Linked DNA regions of Homo sapiens: region 2 is linked to region 1. Evidence: promoter capture Hi-C in 16 types of primary human blood cells and fetal thymus (Javierre and others, 2016). All regions are on one chromosome and are shown on one strand. The core of a region is centred on a gene start or on the middle of the fragment in contact, and the rest is flanking DNA. Distances in the headings are between cores, read along the strand shown. Region 1 holds the start of LYSMD4 (LysM domain containing 4). Region 2 holds the start of SPATA41 (spermatogenesis associated 41).

Evidence for each region. The method cuts DNA at HindIII sites, captures the fragments that hold promoters and counts their contacts. A CHiCAGO score of 5 or more calls a contact.
Region 2: a contact is called between the fragment with the promoter of SPATA41 here and the fragment with the promoter of LYSMD4 in region 1, in 1 of 17 cell types (non-activated CD4 T cells). The highest score is 6.9, in non-activated CD4 T cells.

The regions. Positions count from the first base shown.
Region 1 is chr15:99,732,030-99,735,377 of GRCh38, forward strand. It overlaps LYSMD4 (LysM domain containing 4), which reads right to left and starts at 1,408. Exons shown (of 3, transcript NM_001284417.2): 1 at 1,316-1,408. RefSeq lists silencers at 858-967, 1,008-1,737. The HindIII fragment of the contact is 4,446 bases long and covers 367-3,348 here.
Region 2 is chr15:100,349,242-100,352,539 of GRCh38, forward strand. It overlaps SPATA41 (spermatogenesis associated 41), which reads right to left and starts at 1,477. Exons shown (of 2, transcript NR_028139.1): 1 at 1-1,477. It overlaps LOC105371021 (a long non-coding RNA gene), which reads left to right and starts at 365. Exons shown (of 3, transcript XR_007064777.1): 1 at 365-441; 2 at 1,134-1,704; 3 at 2,438-2,903. RefSeq lists an enhancer at 645-904. The HindIII fragment of the contact is 2,620 bases long and covers 1-1,797 here.

The DNA of each region.
Region 1 (3,348 bases), core at 158-2,657:
AATTCCACAGAAGACATAATCATCCCTCCACCGCCTCGTTTAAAGAGAAGTGTCTTGTTAGAGAGTATTCCTTTTCCTAATCGCTGCAAATACTCAGCATACATCATCAACAGAAAAAAAAGAATGTGCTTATGCTGGCTGAGATGGAAGAAGATAGGCAGAATAAAAACCCTTTGTTTTTTCTAATCGCATACGTTTTGTGCAGAAAACGAACCCCGCCCCTGTTCCTCATCCATAGCTGTCTCCCCTAAACCCACATCTGTAAAGAAACAACTACTTTTGCTCTCAGAGTAGTAAGTTGAGATCCTTGCAATGGCAAGTAAGGGCTGCCGCCAGCCTCCGCGCACTCAGAATCTTCAACTCAGAAGCTTTGCACAATAATTTTGTATTCAATATTTTACACATTGCAAAGTATCTTCACTAAGAAGGTCAGCGCTAAGGACTCTTGCTCAGAACTGTGGGGCTAAACTGCTCTTACTTTGACACAGTTTAACTCACAGTATGTGGGGCAAGCTACGGGGAGAACTCATGCCTGTCAGCCGGAGAAAAGCGTCCAGTTTGCTCACGGGTCACTTTGCATTCATTACATCCCCATTGTCTGGTTTTTATTTTCCCCTTGAGTCAACAGCCAAAGCCGCAAGACCCCTGTTCCTCTCTCCAGATTGTTCGCGTGAGATTCCAGAAACGAAATCTCAAACACGCGGGCTGACAACTTCAGAAAAAGGTGGCTTCGGAGCCACAGGGGAGCAGCCCGTACGGGGACAGCCTGCGGCCCCAGCTCGACCCCCTACTCCCCGCCCACGCCTTCGAGGGTCACAGGCCCACACCCCGCTCCGCGCGCTCCTGAGCCTGCCCGGAGGCGGGAGGCGGCCGGCGGTCCTCGGGGGGTTGAGGGTCACCTGCAGGACCACGGCGGCAGCCCGGGGACGGGGCCAGCCTTCGCGTCCGAGCTCAGGGGCGGCGGCAGCAGCTCCAGGCCCGCTTCCCTCCAAGTCCCTTCTGCGAAAAGATGGGGCACCTCAACAAGAGCTGACAGGAAAATGGGGAGCGGCCCGGCCCCAGGGCTCCACGGCTCCACGGGCGGGGCCCTAACATTCCAGAGGGCAGAACCTCTGACCTCTGACCCCCAACCCTAGCCACCTGGGGCCAGCCCACGACAGTCGCGGTCACCGCCCCTCCAGCTGGAGCGTCCCCCTAGGAGCCCGGGGAGGGGCGGCCCGCCCGCGAACCCTCGAGCGAGGCCAGGTCGCCGTACCGCCATGAGCCCGCGCGGCTCCCTAGCCAGACCGCGGCCCCCTCGTCCAGGCCCCGGTACCTCAGCGCCCAGGCTCCGCCGCGACCGGCGACCGGCGACTCGCGACCCGCGACCCGCGACCCGCAGCTGCCACCGCGCCTGCGGATTGGCTACGAACATCAGCAGGGCCCCCCTGGGGGCGGGACTGGGGAGGCAGCCAATGAAGTCAGCGCTGGGCGGGCACTGGAGCGAGCCTGGCTGCGCGGAGAGCTCATCCCGGGACCACAGGGCCCGGGGCGGGGCTCGGGGCGGGGCTCGGGGCGGGGCTCGACAGGGTTCCACACCCCGGAAGTGGCCCTCGCCCCGCCCACCCGCCTACCAGGTCTACCCGCGCGGGCCCTGGCTTGTTTTCGCGTCTGTTCGGAGTAATAAGGCACCTCAGCTCCTCCCTCCCAAAGTGCTTGGCTTTCTGCTGAGCCGCAGCTTTCTCGCCCGTAAAGAGGCCTTTGACCCCACTTGTGGGTAATGATCTGTAGCTGTGACTCGGGGTGGATTCCAGTAGCGTGGGGTCCCCTGAGCCCTCCTGCGGGGAAGGGCTGGGCGCAGATGGGCGAGGGGTCTTTCTGCGGCGGGATCTGCGCTCCTGGGCCTTTGAGGGCCGCACCAGGGGAGGCATTGCCCCACCCCGAGAAGAAAACAGAAATCCACGAGTGTAAAACATGGATGCGGACAACAGGGACCAAGAAAACTTAAGTCGTGTTTATCAAATGTCAGGTGGCCGAGGATTTCTTAAGATGAAAAGTGGTGGAAGAATTCTCACACACTGGCCGGGCGCGGTGGCTCACGCCCGTAATCCCAGCACTTTGGGAGGCCGAGGCTGGTGGATCACGAGGTCAGGAGTTCGAGACCAGCCTGGCCAAGATGGTGAAACCCCGTCTCTACTAAAAAAATAAAAATAAAAAAAAATAAAAAAGTTAGCCGGGCATGGTGGCGGGCGCCTGTAATCCCAGCTACTCAGGAGGCTGAGACAGAGGATTGCTTGAACCCGGAGGCGGAGGTTGCAGTGAGCCGAGATCGTGCCACTGCACTCCAGCCTGGGCAACAGAGGGAGACTCCATCTCAAAAAAAAACAAAAACAAAAACCTCACACACTAAGGCACAAAGTTCAGAGCTTCTACTTAAAAAGGAAAACCAAAATTAAAAAGCAGATAACCTAGGGAAAATAAACTGAACACAACAAAGGATTAAAATCCTTCGCTGAGAGAGACTTCATATGAATAGGAAAGATGCTAAGACCTCAGCAGGTCTGAGGGAGACCTCAGAGAGACAGGAGCAGATAATTCAGCAAACAATGCAAATGGTCAACAGGTTGAAAATGTTTTTAACCCTCACTTGCAATCAGATTAAACAACAAAGCAAACATTAAAACAAGATCTCACAAACCTTTTCCCACTAATAGGATTTGACTGTGTCCACACCCAAAACTCATCTTGAATTGTAGCTCCCACAGTTTCCACCTGTTGTGGGAGGGACCTGGTGGGAGGTGATTGAATCATGGGAGCAGGTGTTTTCTGTGCTGTTCTCCAGATAGCGAATGAGTCTCACTAGATTTGATGGTTTTATAAAGGGAAGTTGCCCTGCACAAGTTCTTTTCTTCTATCTGCTGCCATGTGAGATGCACCTTTCACCTTCAGCCATTATTGTGAGGCCTCCCCAGCCAGGTGGAACTGTGAGTCCATTAAACCTCTTTCTTTTGCCCAGTCTCGGGTATGTGTTTATCAGCAGGATGAAAACGGACTAATACACCCACTTAAACTAAAAGTCAAATTGTTAATCTTCGTGGACAAAGCCCAAAATGGTCTGGACTCCAGGACTTACCCTCCCCTAACCCCCAGGGTTCTCAAGACTCTGGCCTTGGAATGAGAGTGACATCATCAGCTTCCCTGGTTCTGATGTTTTTGGACCTGCACTGAACCATATTATCTGCATCCCAGGGTCTCCAGCTTGCAGACCCACCTGTCCCGGGACTTTCAGTCTCCTTAATTGTGTGAGCCAAGTCTAATCTCCTCTCTCTCACTCACTCACTTTGTGTCTCTCTCTATAGGTAGAAATAG
Region 2 (3,298 bases), core at 227-2,726, 620 kb after region 1:
TGAGATAGACAAAGCTCCTAACCTCTCCAGCTTTTTGCCGACAGCTCGATTCTGATGGGCACTGACCTTTTCCGACCCTGTTTTCAGGAGCCGACTCCTGGCAGGTTGGTTGTAGGGGCCCTCTTGAGTGCTTCACACACAGCAGTCCTGTTGGGGTGAAGGTCACCGTCACTGTGATAATTGTTGTCGTCGTTGAAACCACCCAGCCCGAAAGCAGCATGGGCTGTGCCCAGAGCCGCCGTGCCAGAAGCCCACGCTTAGAAATAGAGGGCCGAAGACCAAAGAGGACTGCGGGTTCTTGGGCCAAACGTGACCCTCTCAAATCCCCCAACTCGGGGATTTCGTTAGCTGGGGACTGGTGTGCCCGGGTTCCAAGACCCCTGCGTAGACTCTGTCTATAGGTGGAAGAAGGCCTTTGCCCCGAGGCATCCAGAGGTAACGGTGAGAGGAACAAGGGCACGTGGGGGATCCCACCACAGCCTCCCCTGAGACCCTCTTCACGCTGGTTGCAGGAGTAGCCAACCCCGCTCCCTGGCAGCCCGTGAGATGCCACATCCCCTCCAGCAGGGGGCGGCCGGCATCGGTCCCGTCTTCCTAAACCGGCGTTGGTGGGAAATGCCGGCACCAGCTCCCTCCCCGCTCCAGAGCCCTGTTTTCCCCATTTGTATTTCACTACTTTCCTGTTGAGCTTGGATTCCAGCCTCAAATTCCGCGATTTGGCCGGCATCCTAATCCCCGAGTGACTCTTGCCAACCACTCTCTGTGGGGCCTGTGTGCTTCCTCCTGGGTTCTGGGGCGCTGGCGGCGTCCGCTTCACCGGGAACGGGAGCCCCAGCCTCCCGAGGCCTTCCTGCCTGGCTCTGGGAATGGCCACTGTCCAGAAAGCCCCGCGGCCGTCCATGCTCGCTCGCTCAGTCAGGCCCTTGTGGGGATATTGCAGAACGAGTCCGAGTTACTATCCCTTTAAATACAGGCGTTTCGGCCTAGCTGCCGCCGGTCCAATCCGCAGCGCTTCCGTGCCCCACTTTCCCGCGTCAGCCTGGCTCCGGCCTCCACCAGGGGGTGCTAGTGAGATCCCAGCCAGCCTCAGAGCTGAGCGTCCAGGGCCTTCAAATGTCCCCATCCTTGAAAAGGCAACTCCAGTGGCATCTTCTGCGGGGAGACCAGAAGCAGCATCTGACGAGGAGACAGCACTGGCGGTCCCGACACAACTGAATCGGCAGGATGAGGGCCCTTAGTGTTAGGCACCGGCGGAGCTGCATCCCACCCCGTCTCGTCCCCTGAGAACAGCTGTGAGAAGCCGCCTATTTTTCATCGTTCTGCAACACACCTTTCCCTTCCTTGGGATATTTCTCCTCTTTCAGCATTGCCGCATCAGGGTTCCAAAGCCCCGTTTCTCTCCTAGTTCTTTCTTTGCTCAAGAAAAGCAGCTTGTCTGATAAACTAAGCTATGTATGATTCGCTGCCAGTACAGACTGAAAAACAAAATAAACTCCCAATTCACAGTCCTCCGTTGCGTAACAGTGAGCAGACGTTCTGAGAAATGCATCGTCAGGCAATTGCATCATTGTGCAAACAATATAGAGTGTACTTACCCAAACCTAAACAGCACAGCCTACTACACACCCAGGCTGTAGGCTGTGCTTCTAGACTACAAACCTGTACAGTGTGGTACTGAACACTGTAGGCAACTGTAACACAATGGTAAGTATTTGTGTATCTAAACATAGAAAAGATACAGTAAAAATATGGTATGAAAGATTGAAACTGGTGCACCTGCCTAGGGCACCTACCGTAAGCTTGGAGCTTACGGGACTGAAAGTTGCTCTGGGTGAGTCAGTAAGTGAGTGGTGAGTAAATACGAAGGCCTAGGACATTACTGTACACTACTGTAGACTTTAAAACCCTGTACACTAGGCCCACACTCAATTTATTTTTAAAAATTTTCTTTCCTTCAATAATATATTCACTTTAGCTTACTGTAACTTTTCTACCTTAAGAATTTTTAAATTTTTTGACTCTTTTAATAACAGCTTGAATACACAAACACATTGTACAGCTATACAAAAATATTTTCATTCTTCATATCCTTATTCTATAAGCTTTTTTCCTACTTTTGAAGTTGTTTATTTTTTACATTTTAAACTTTTTGTCAAATATTAAGACACAAACACACATTAGCCTAGGCCTATACAGGGTCAGGATCATCAATACCACTGTCTTCTGCTTTCACATCTTGTCCCACTGGAAGGTCTTCAATGGTAATAACACACATTCTTAGTAAATGCAAATAGTCATGGCTCAGACTGATATAGTAATGATAGACTATTCAATATGTGGTATTGGACAGCTGTTTATATATTTGTACGAACCTAAGTTAGATTCTGTGGTGGTTCAAAAATATATCCTCTAATTATGACCTGCTTCCCTTCAACAGGTGTACCTAATTCCTCTGCCTAGAAAGTGTGCTGGAATTACTGCCTGGCTTCTGATGAATAGGGCGTATTGAGAGTGATGCTTTGTGAGTTCTGAGGCTAGGTCATAGAAAGGATTGAACTTATTCCTGAATGTTGCTCTTGGATCACTTGCTTTTTTGGGAACCACCAGCCATGTCATGAGGACACTCAAGCAACCCTGCAGAGAAGCACATGTGTGGAGAGGCACTTCTTGGAAAGGAGGCCAACTTGCCAGAACCAACTAATTTGTCATGTGAGTGAGTCATTTTGGAAGCAGATCCTCTACCCTCAGTCAGGCCTTCCGATGATTTCAGCCCCCAGCCTTTGAGTCTGCCCCAAACACCATGAGTAGAGACAAGCCCTTCCCACTGTGTCCACCCTGGCTGAATTCCAGACCGTTAAAAAAACAAGAGAAAATAAATTATTATTAGTGTTTTGAGTCACTAAGTTTTGGACTAATTTGTTATGCAGCAATAGCTAACAACTACAGAGTCATAACACAAACTAAAATTAATTCTAAGGCATGTTAAAGATTTATATGAAAGCATTCATCTAATGGAGGTGTGCAAGAAGTGGCTATAAAAAATTTAGGGCACCCAAAAGCAACCTGTAGGCTGAGCAGGGTAAGTACATCTGCAAGAGCAGCCAGATGGCTAGTTGGTCCCTGTGTGCAGCCTCTCTACCCACCCATGGTATAGGTCCAGGAATGGAACTGTTTAGCTTCCCTAGGAAACAATGAATGTGGTGCTTGCATTGTGTTGCTGACACCATCAGAGAGGAAATGGAAGTCCCAGTGTCCAGAAGCTAAACAGAAACACACACACACAAAAGACAGAAGGAAA